3 separate regions of the Homo sapiens genome follow, and regions 1 and 3 are each linked to region 2. The links are contacts of gene promoters, found by promoter capture Hi-C in human tissues and cell types (Jung and others, 2019). All regions are on one chromosome and are shown on one strand. Each heading gives the region's core, a stretch centred on a gene start or on the middle of the fragment in contact. The rest is flanking DNA. Distances are from core to core; before and after follow the strand shown.

Region 1 (3,779 bases), core at 760-3,259, 2.0 Mb after region 2:
GGCCTGTTTCCCTATATATACAATGGTAATAATAATAATGCCCTCCTCATTGAATTGTTTGGACGATTAATTGGGCTAGTATATGCACAGGTCCTGGCACATAGTAAAAACTTGATAAGCTTTTTAAAAAAATGTCCATTCCAGGCTGGGCGCAGTGGCTTACGCCTGTAATCCCAGCACTTTGGGAGGCCGAGGCAGGAGGATCTTGTGCCCAGTAGTTCCAAGACCAATTTGACAACATGGTGAAACCCCATCTCTGCTAAAAACAGAAAAATTAGCGGGGTGTGGTGGTACACGCCTCTACATAGTTCCAGCTACTCAGGAGGCTGAGGTGTGGGAGGATGTCTTGAACCCGGGAGGTCGAGATTGCAGTCAGCCAAGATCGTGCCACTGCACTTCAGCCTGGGCAACAGAGACTCTGTCAAAAAAGAACGAGGAGGAGGAGGGGAAGGGGGAGAGAGAGAGGGAGACGGGTGATAAGGAACTGGCATGGGCAACAGCCATGGCAAACAGCCTGGGCAAAGGCCAGGAGGTGAGACACAGTATGTTTGTAGACCTGGCTTACAGGATGAGGACCAGGCTGGGGCTCAGTGTACATGGAAAGAGAGGAGAGGAGGAGCCAAGGCCAGAAGAGTCTTGAAGAAAAGCTTTGAGTGCCAAATAAAGCAGGGGAACTTTATCCTGGGAGACATGGGAGATTTTCCAGCAGATCCCCCCCGACCCCCATTTGTTGGAGCCCTCCAGTGCATCCTGCACGGCTACGCCTTTTTGTTTTGTTTTGCAGCTCTGTCGCCCAGGCCGGAGTGCAGTGGCGCCAGCTCGGCTCTCTGCAGCCTCAATCCCCTGGGCTCAAGGGATCCTCCCACCTCAGCCTCCTGAGTAGCTAGGACCATAGGCGCGCGCCACCACGCCCAGTTCATTTTTAAAAATTTTATTGTAGAGATGGGGTTGCCATGTTGGCCAGGCTGGTCTCAAACTCCTGGGCTCAAGTGATCCGCCCGCCTTGGCCTCGCAAAGTGCTGGGATTACAGGCGTGAGGCCCCGCGCCCGGCAACGCCTTTGCTGACTGCTTCAAAACTTTTTTGAATTGACTGTAGTCATTATCTATAGCTTAGCCTTAGCCTTGCGCCCGTTCGTTTCCTGGAGTTTTCTTCCAGAGTCCCCGTAGGAGGTGCCCCCACGCCCATCTCCAGCACCAAGGAGGCTCGACGCCAACCCCAGCGCGCCCCCACGCTCGCCGTCACCGGGACGTGACTCGTGAAACGTCCGCTCCGGGCGGCGGCGGCAGCGGCGGCAGGCTGGCTTGTACCCCGACAACGCGCGTCTGGCTTCTGCCGGACGTTCCTATCTGGGTTCAGAACTGGGGCCGGGTGCTGCAGGTCCCGCAGTCTGAGAAGTTTTCGCGGGTTTCAGAAGTTTCCTTAGGCGTTCTAAGGGCTTTACTCAGGTGGAGTCTCCATTCAGGCACTTATTTAACCACCCATTTCTCCTTTAGGGGTCCTCGCTGCTCGCCCAGCCGCTAATTAAGTGACGGACACAGTAGCTAAGGAGACTGCCTGATTGACACGCATGATTACCAACCGACTTCCGGAAACTCCAGTCAGGGCCTGCCCGGCGCGTGGCCCACGGCCCAATTAAAGAAGTGGAAGCGCCAAAGGGGGAGGTAACGGAGCGGCCTACGTTGTGGCGGTTCCCTGGTGAATGCGCCCTGGGGTTGAGGCGTCTGCGGGCGTTCGGACGATGCCGTGACGCGGCACGGCGACACTGTTGGCAATATGAGCGCACCCCTGTAGAGGGAGCCCTTCGGTCCTGGAGGCGGCGCGGCGTGAAGACAGGTTGCTATTTGAGAGCGTTCCCTTGAAGCCCCTCAGAGAGTGGGGGAGGGGCGGCGGACGGCAAGCGGTTCCTGTCTGCGCTTGCGCCGGCGCCTCTGCCGACCCGGCCTGCACGCACGCGCATGCCCGTAGCGCGCGGAGCCGCGGTGGCCGGCAGCACTGCGCGTGCGCGGTGAGGAGCCCGCTAAGGAGCGGCGCTGGCGGACGTCGGGCTGGCTGCCCGTGACGTCGTGCGGAGAGCTTTAAAGTGCGGGCCGGGCCGGGCGTCCGAGGGTCTGGTCGGGAGTCGGGCCGCGTCTCCGCAGCAGCCCTCCGCGGCATGAGGCGCTGCCGGCGCCCCTGCCCCGCGGGACGTGGAGAAGGTGGAGGAGGAAGAAGCCCCGTTGTCGCCACCGTTGCATGACCCGCCGCTCCTGAGGCCCTACCCCACGCCCGGACCCTCGACGCCCCCCGCCGGGTCCCCCACTCACGCATGGGGGTTCGGCGCTAAGGACCCCCCTCCCTCCGGGGGCCCCGGGGCGCGTCCCCTTAGAGCCATGCCCGGCTGCCCCGCCCGCCCCGGAGGACCCTAGAGCAGCGTCGTGGGGGCCATGGCGGCCGCCAGCGGCTACACGGACCTGCGTGAGAAGCTCAAGTCCATGACGTCCCGGGACAACTATAAGGCGGGCAGCCGGGAGGCCGCCGCCGCTGCCGCAGCCGCCGTAGCCGCCGCAGCCGCAGCCGCCGCTGCCGCCGAACCTTACCCTGTGTCCGGGGCCAAGCGCAAGTATCAGGAGGACTCGGACCCCGAGCGCAGCGACTATGAGGAGCAGCAGCTGCAGAAGGAGGAGGAGGCGCGCAAGGTGAAGAGCGGCATCCGCCAGATGCGCCTCTTCAGCCAGGACGAGTGCGCCAAGATCGAGGCCCGCATTGACGAGGTGGTGTCCCGCGCTGAGAAGGGCCTGTACAACGAGCACACGGTGGACCGGGCCCCACTGCGCAACAAGTACTTCTTCGGCGAAGGCTACACTTACGGCGCCCAGCTGCAGAAGCGCGGGCCCGGCCAGGAGCGCCTCTACCCGCCGGGCGACGTGGACGAGATCCCCGAGTGGGTGCACCAGCTGGTGATCCAAAAGCTGGTGGAGCACCGCGTCATCCCCGAGGGCTTCGTCAACAGCGCCGTCATCAACGACTACCAGCCCGGCGGCTGCATCGTGTCTCACGTGGACCCCATCCACATCTTCGAGCGCCCCATCGTGTCCGTGTCCTTCTTTAGCGACTCTGCGCTGTGCTTCGGCTGCAAGTTCCAGTTCAAGCCTATTCGGGTGTCGGAACCAGTGCTTTCCCTGCCGGTGCGCAGGGGAAGCGTGACTGTGCTCAGGTAACCCACCCGGGTGGAGGGGGCGGCCCTGCGCCTGCTGCCTTAGCTACCCACCCTGGCCCAGAAAGCAGCAGCCCGTAGGAGTCTGCGTTTTTTACAGTTCTGACCAGTTCTTCTGTTTGTAGATTGTAGGGAGCGAGAGAAGGGTTTTGTGTTTAAGATACCTATAGCAAGAAAATAGGGAACCGATGTGGAAATCCTGTCCCCGAAGGCAGGTTTGACGGGATCACTGACTTGGCTGAGAATTCATCGAAAGCCATCTTTTCAGAAGGCTGTTCCCTTTGATTTTTTTTTTTCCCACCATCCATTTCTTAGCATAAGTCCCTTTGTGATTTTCCGGTTTTCCATTCTGGCCTTCCATTTACAAATCTATGCTTTAAAATTTTTTTTTTTTTTAATTTATCTAAAAGTCTTTCTTGTTCTGCCATTTTTGGATTCCTTAACAGAGAAAGTAGTCACAGGCAAAGGCCCCAGAGATTATTTAATTGAAGCACATTCTCCATTCCCAGGAGGGGGAGTGACTTCCCTGGAGTTGAACAGATTAGTGGTTGGGCCAGGCATACAGAGCAGCACACTCTTAAAAT
Region 2 (3,472 bases), core at 663-3,162:
GAGCCCAGAGGGAGCTGTTACCACCTCACAGAAATATAACCCCTTCAATCTGTTTAAAACAATTTTATAACTATTAACTCCCTTTAGGCTCACAACAGCCAACCCTAGGAGAGTAGATGTTTACCTAATATTCAAGATGAGGAAACTGAAGCACAGAAAGGTTGATCAAGTTCCAAAATCACATAGTTAGAGCAAGAATCAAGATACTTTGTATTATATTTTCTCCGGGGGAGTAGTTCAACATATGGCAAGCCTTTTGTAAAAGGAAAGAGTATTTTAGTATTGTAAGTAATCAGTTCCTACTGTGAGCATTTTATACATAGCTATATCCATATATACAATTAATCTTGATTTCCATTAACAGGTGTGCTTAAAGCAAGGCCAAGCAACTGGGTACTATAAATATTAAAACAAATAAATAAACTTCCACCGGATGTTAACAGAAAAAGAAAAAAAGATACAAGATTTCTCTCTCCAGTAACTTGCGGTTACTTCTTCTGTAATTGTTACCCTTGTCTAAATAACATTCTAAAATTGGTCTGCTCCTGAGCCCGGGCAAGTACAAGTTGGTTCATCCAATAAATATCTTCATGAAAAGGTACATCAAAACATTTTAAAAAGCTATTAAAAATTAAACGATGCCATCAACTCTTCAGTTATCCACAGGACAATCACATGTGACCCAGCATCAGCAGCTATTGATCAAGATATATTGAACGAATGAATGAATCTTTGTAGGCATTTTTAAATCCCGGGCCTGTTGCTCCTTGCACAGTGCCATGTTCAGCCTTCCATCACTGCCTCACCAGGGTGCACACAAGGAATGTAAATTTCAATATAATTAGGATATAATTAGAGAAGCAAATCTGATGCAGGTTTACATACTAATCCCAAAGATTAGAATTACCTATACTACTACTCTCCAAGGTTAACTCTGTGGAAGAGGCACCGCAGCATGCAACATCACATAAAGAAAACTGACACTTCCTGAGCAAATAGTTTTCGTCCATATCACTTATTCCCATCCATTCCTTTAATACATGACTATTCCTGATCCAGTTAATTTGAAGAATTCAGTCTCCTCTCCATAAAGGCTGATTTCACAACTACAGTTTCTCAAATTCCTCTCTCCCCAAAAAGGGGTGCACTTACGGACTTCGCTTAAGAAAACACCAACAATAAACGGCAGAAGGTATAGTGTTCGGATCTTTGCCATCTCCACCAGTACCCAGCCTTCGCCATTACACCCTGAAGCGGTCTGTTAGAAAGGTGAACTAATTTACTCTGCACGCACTTGTCCATGGCTGTCAACCTCCGCAGCCCCTTCTACACTTCCAAGTCGGCCACCAACTCCGCCTCAGTGAGCCCAGGCCCGCCACCTGCGCCGGCCCCACCCGGGGCACCGGCTGCCCGCTCTCCCTCGCAGGCCCTGTAGGCTCCGCACGCCCCTCCGCACAGGACACCTCGGGGCCAGCCCCGGCCCGGCCACAGCCCATTCTTCCTCCAAACTCCATAAGCCTCCGCTAGCCCAGCCCGAGCTCCCCGCCGCGCCCGGCTCTCTCCTGGGCTGCCGAGTGGAAGAGGCCAGGCGGCCAGGACGGGTCCCGACCTGCCCAGGCCTGCGACACCCCCCGCCCGGCGGAGAAACCGTCCCAGCGGCTGCTGCCCCGGGAGCCCTCGGAAGCCCCCGGACTAGCAGGAGCCCGGAGGCCGGGGTTGCAGGCGCCAGGGCCTACTCACCGGGAGCTGGCTAAGCGTGGGAGCCGACGTGCGCCCCGGCCTGAGGAGTGGGACGCGGCCACGGCGCGCGGCCCTACACCGGGACCTCGTTCGGCGCGGCGAGTCGGACGCTCACTCCAGCCGCCGCCGCCGCCGCGGCTGCTGCTTCGCCACCTTGGCCGCCATCTTGACTCAACCCCTCTCCCTCCCCCCAGCCCGCGGAGCCGCGGCTAAGGCGGCTCCAGCGCCGGCTCCTCCTCCTTCCGGAGAGTTGGGAGACCAACTCCCTCCGCTGGCCGGGCGCCTCTCCTACCTCGGCGGAGCTTCCCGGGTCGCGCTGCGCCCGGTCTCTTCATGTCTCCTCTAGGCCTGGCAGCGGCGGTCCTCTCGGACGGATACGGGGCCGAGCAGCGCCCAGCCGGATCCAGCGCTGCTGCCATCGTGCCCTGGGCTTGTGCGCCCCCCGCCTGCCCGTCTGTTCCGCGCGCCCGAGGCCTTCCTCAGGCGTGGGAAAAGGAAAAACTCCAGGCCGTGGAAGGGACCCTGCAAACCCCTCCGCGGCGTGGTGGGGCGGCGGCGGCCTCCTCTGGCCGGAGCTGCGTACAGGGAAGCCGGTCCCCTCGTGGCTGGGAGCTGGAGGGGTGCATTTCGACCTGCCCAAGATACTTTCTAGGGCTCTGGCTGGAATTCGCACCAAGCCCTCACTGAAATGCTGGGCGAGGCCGATTTGTCCACGATGTTGCTCCTTAACCTTAAGTTACTTGCAAGAGGAGCCTGTGGCCCTCGCGACTGTTAAGTGCACGCTCAGCCTCACCCTGCTGGGGAAACGACGGTTCCTCGTAACCGCACGCATACGTTCCTTTAGAAAAGCCAGGCCCGACCGGACGCAGTGGGTCACGCTTGTAATCCCAGCACTTAGGGAGGCCGAGGCGGGCCATCACTTAAGGTCAGGAGTTCGAGACCAGCCTGACGAACATGGAGAAACCCCGTCACTACTAAAAATACAAAAATTAAGCGGGCGTGGTGGCGCGCGCCAGTAATCCCAGCTACTGGGGAGACCGAAGTGGGAGAATTGCTTGAACGCGGGAGGCTGAGGTAGCAGCGAACCTAGGTCGCGCCACTGCACTCCAGCCTGGGCGACGGAGCCAGACCGTTTCAAAAAAAAAAAAGAAAGGGCCGGGCGCGGTGGCTCAGGCCTGTAATCCCAGCACTTTGGGAGGCCGAGGCGAGCGGATCACGAAGTCAGGAGTTCGAGACCAGCCTAGTTAACATGGTGAAACCCCCTCTCTACTAAAAATACAAAAATTAGCTGGGCGTGGTGGCGCGCGCCTATAGTCCCAGCTACTCGGGAGGCTGAGGCAGAAGAGTCGCTTGAACCCGGGAGACAGAGGTTGCAGTGAGCCGAGATCGCTCCACTGCACTCCAGCCTGGGCGACAGAGCCTCTCAAAAAAAAAAAAAAAGGTAAAGAAAGCCATCCAAAAGTGAGAAGGAATAACAAAGTTGGTGTAACTGGCTATTTTGGAAAACTGTCATACGGATAACGGGCTGTCTAACCCTATAATTACGAGAAAGGCCCGAGTTTTAAGAAATGAATTCGAAAATGAAGAGGAAGGAACTCTTCCTATAAGTGGGAGCTTATATATAAGACGCTTCCTTTTAAACCGATTGTACAGTGTGGTAGGACTAGGGTAGGAAACTGGACGGCATGGAGACTTCTGTGTTAAAACACAAGAGAACCCTTAACGTTAAAAC
Region 3 (3,570 bases), core at 498-2,997, 1.0 Mb after region 2:
ACCCCATGAAAATCCTCACCAAGCTTGGCTACAGCTTGATCACCACGGCCGAGTGGGAGATCATGCATGACAAGGAGAAGCTGTGTTGCCCTTCGAGCAGGAGATGGCCACCGCCGCATCCTCCTCCTCCCTGGAGAATAGCTGTGAGGTGCCCATGGCCAGGTCATCGCCATTGGCAACAAGCAGTTCCAGTGTCTGGAGGCACTGTTCCAGCCTTCCTTCCTGGGCATGGAATGTTGCAGCATCCACAAGACCACCTTCAACTCCATCATGAAGTGTGATGTGGACATCTGCAAAGACTTATATGCCAACACGTGCTGTCTGGCGGCACCACCATGTACTGGGGCATCCTGACAGGATGCAGAAGGAGATCACTGCCCTGGTGCCCAGCACCACGAAGATCAAGATCATTGTGCCCCGCCCCAAGCACAGGTACTCAGTGTGGATCGGCAGTTCCATCCTGGCCTCACTGTCTACCTTCCAGCAGATGTGGATCAGCAAGCAGGAGTAAGATGAGTCAGGCCCCTCCATCATCCACCACAAACGCTTTTAAACGGACTGTGAGCCGATGAGTAGCATTTACTGCATGGGTTAATTCCAGAGTATAAATTTGCCCTTGGAGGCCGGGCGTGGTGGCTCACGCCTGTAATCCCAGCACTTTGGGAGGCCGAGGTGGGCAGATCACAAGGTCAGGAGATCAAGACCATCCTGGCTAGCACGGTGAAACCCCATCTCTACTAAAAATACAAAAAAATTAGCCGGGCGTGGTAGAGGGTGCCTGTAGTCCCAGCTACTCGGGAGGCTGAGGCAGAAGAATGGTGTGAACCTGAGAGGTGGAGCTTGCAGTGAGACAAGATTGTGCCACTGCACTCCAGCCTGGGCAACAGAGCGAAACTCCGTCTCAAAAGAAAAAAAAAAATTTGCCCCTGGCAAATGCATACACCTCATACTAGCCTCACGAAACTGGAATAAGCCTTTGAAAGAAGTTTGTCCTTAAGGTTTGTATCTGATATCAGCACTGGATTGTAAAACTTGTTGCTGATTTTGACCTTGTATTCAAGTTAACTGTTCTCCTTGGTATTTGTGTAATGCCCTATACATCTTTGATTTCAACCCTTAGTACGTGTGGCTTGGTCACTTCGTGGCTGAGGTAAGAACTGGCTTGTGGAAGACAGGTCAGTGGTTTGGTGAGTCTGTGTGGCCAGCAGTCTCCGATCTGTGCAGTGTATTAATGTGTCAGGGCAGAGTGTTCTGCTGTAGAGCCTGGTAAGGGCTCCTGAACCAATTGTTTCTGTCTTGCCGGTCTATCAGGGTTGGAAAAGTCCAAGCCATAGGACCAAGTTTCCTCTCTTAGCTGATGTTTTCATGCCAGAACACCATGAGCTGCTACTTGTCTTGAGTTGGAAGCAGTTCGTATTTCCACCTGTAAATGTATTCATCCCTTTAATTTATGTAGGGTTTTCTTGTACTCAATTCTCAATTCTTTGAGATGACAACACATTTTGTTTTTTTACTGTTATGTGAGAACATCAGGCCCCAGCAACACGTCATTGTGTAAGGAAAAATAAAAGTACTGCTGTAAAAGAAACAAAAAAAATCGGCTGGGTGCGGTGGCTTAACGCCTGTGAGCCCAGCACTTTGGGAGGCCAAGGTGGGTGGATTGCTTGAGGTCAGGAGTTTGAGCCTGGCCAGGCCAACATGGCAAAACCCTGTCTCTAGTAAAATGCAAAAGTTAGCTAGACGTGGTGGTGGGTGCCTGTAATCCCAGCTACTAGGGAGGCTGAGGCAGGAGAATTGCTTAAACCAGGAGGTGGAGGTTGCAGTGAGCTGAGATCACACCACTTCACTCCACCCTGGGCTACAGAGGAGACTCCATCTCAAAAAAAAAAATTCAGGAGTCTCACTGAGGTAGTAGCTACAGTGAGCAGATACCACCCCTTAAGGGTTGGGGAACAAAGGGAAAAGATTGGGACGAATAGAATTTAAAATTCTGAAGGAGGGCACAGTGGGAAGATGGGGGAGGCCTGCCTCCTGGGCCCCTTTATCTCTAAGGGGCTGTGCTGAGGCTGATTCTAGGAGCATGGGGGAAACTGCACACTGGAAGCAGACTTGCCTGGACCATGCTGCTCAACAGAGGCAGATGCAGGGAGCCTGTCACTTTCTCCCCCGAGCTCTAATCCCCTTCTTGCTGGTTTGCAGAGGTCTAGCCCAAGAATCACAAAGCAGAACACAGAACAGGGGATTCAAAGCTGAAACGATTGTGACCAGCTCTCCCCTCAAACAGACTCAGGGTTTGCAGGTACTAGGACAAGGTTCTAAATAACATATCCCCTTTCAGTTCAAGTTTCCAAAAAATGCAGTTATTTTAATGAATCCACCTTGGGTAAAAAATTATAATAGCATCCACATCATTAGCAGCTCACAGTACTTTTCACTTATATAGTCACGACTGACAAGTACTAGCAGTTCACAGACACATTCTAAGTGATTTTGATTTCAGATCCAGATAATGAGAAGCTAATTGTTTTTTAAAAATAAAACAGGGTCTATAATTCATTACACAGATAAATGATCATTTCCCATTAAATATTTTGTTTCCTAAGTGCAGGTATACGTAAACAAGTGAAAGGGATGCAACCCACAAATAGTCCTAATTCAAGGGCTAGAGAATTTGACAGTTTAGTTGATAGGTCAGCAAACTATAGGCTTCAGGTCAGACCTAGCCTGCTGCCTACCTTTTTTTTTTTTTTTTTTTTTTGAGATGGAGTTTTGCTGTTGTCGCCCAGGCTGGAGTGCAATGGCATGATCTTGGCTCACCACAACCTCCACCTCCCGGGTTCAAGCGATTCTCCTGTCTCAGCCTCCTGAGTAGCTGAGATTACAGGCGCCTGCCACCACACCCAGCTAATGTTTGTATTTTTAGTAGAGACTGTTTCACCATGTTGGTCATGCTGGTCTCAAACTCCTGACCTCAGGTGATCCACCCGCCTTGGCCTCCCAAAGTGCTGGGATTACAGGCATGAGCCACCATGCCTGGCCACTGCCTACTTTTTATAAATAAAGTTTTACTACTAAAATGGCCACAGTTACAATAGGCCATATGACCTCCAAAGCCTAAGTGTGGACTCTATTAGGGTAACTTTTTATGTGACTCATGAGGTTTCTTTTCTTTTCTTTTTTTTTTAATAGAGTCTTGCTCTTGTCACCCAGGCTGGATTGCAGTGGCATGATCTTGGCTCACTGCAACCTCCACCTCCCGGGTTCAAGCGATTCTCCTGCCTCAGCCTCCTGAGTAGCTGAAATTACGGGCACCCACCACCATGCCCGGCTCATTTTTTGTATTTTTAGTAGAGATGGTGTTTCACCATATTGCCCAGGCTGGTCTCAAACTACTGACCCAGGTGATCACCTGCCTTGGCCTCCCAAAGTGCTGGGATTACAGGCGTAAGCCACTGCACACAGCTGAGGTTTCTTTTTTAAATAATGAAAATGTGCCTTACCAGACAACTTGAAACATTTTAAAAACTGAATGTTTGTAGTGAGAGAGATTTTTTTAAGGAACAAATTTGA

What was found. Contacts are between HindIII fragments. The study calls those that stand out against the background at their distance.
Region 1: the fragment with the promoter of ALKBH5 here is called in contact with the fragment with the promoter of NCOR1 in region 2 in 1 of the 25 tissues and cell types used here (dorsolateral prefrontal cortex).
Region 3: a contact is called between a fragment that was not itself captured here and the fragment with the promoter of NCOR1 in region 2, in 1 of the 25 tissues and cell types used here (bladder).

What each region holds. Positions count from the first base shown.
Region 1 is chr17:18,181,819-18,185,597 of GRCh38, forward strand. ALKBH5 (alkB homolog 5, RNA demethylase) reads left to right here and starts at 2,010. Exons shown (of 4, transcript NM_017758.4): 1 at 2,010-3,195. The coding sequence starts at 2,426. RefSeq lists enhancers at 1,398-1,597, 1,658-1,897, 2,005-2,842 and silencers at 2,108-2,407, 2,488-2,577, 2,736-2,887. The HindIII fragment of the contact is 6,004 bases long and covers 384-3,779 here.
Region 2 is chr17:16,213,622-16,217,093 of GRCh38, forward strand. NCOR1 (nuclear receptor corepressor 1) reads right to left here and starts at 1,913. Exons shown (of 46, transcript NM_006311.4): 1 at 1,741-1,913. RefSeq lists enhancers at 709-1,625, 1,626-2,541, 2,119-2,178, 3,365-3,472 and a silencer at 1,379-1,848. The HindIII fragment of the contact is 13,683 bases long and covers 1,467-3,472 here.
Region 3 is chr17:17,242,339-17,245,908 of GRCh38, forward strand. It overlaps the pseudogene ACTG1P24. Among named protein-coding and RNA genes, the nearest start is that of FLCN, 7.0 kb to the left of the region's middle. The HindIII fragment of the contact is 7,478 bases long and covers 1-3,570 here.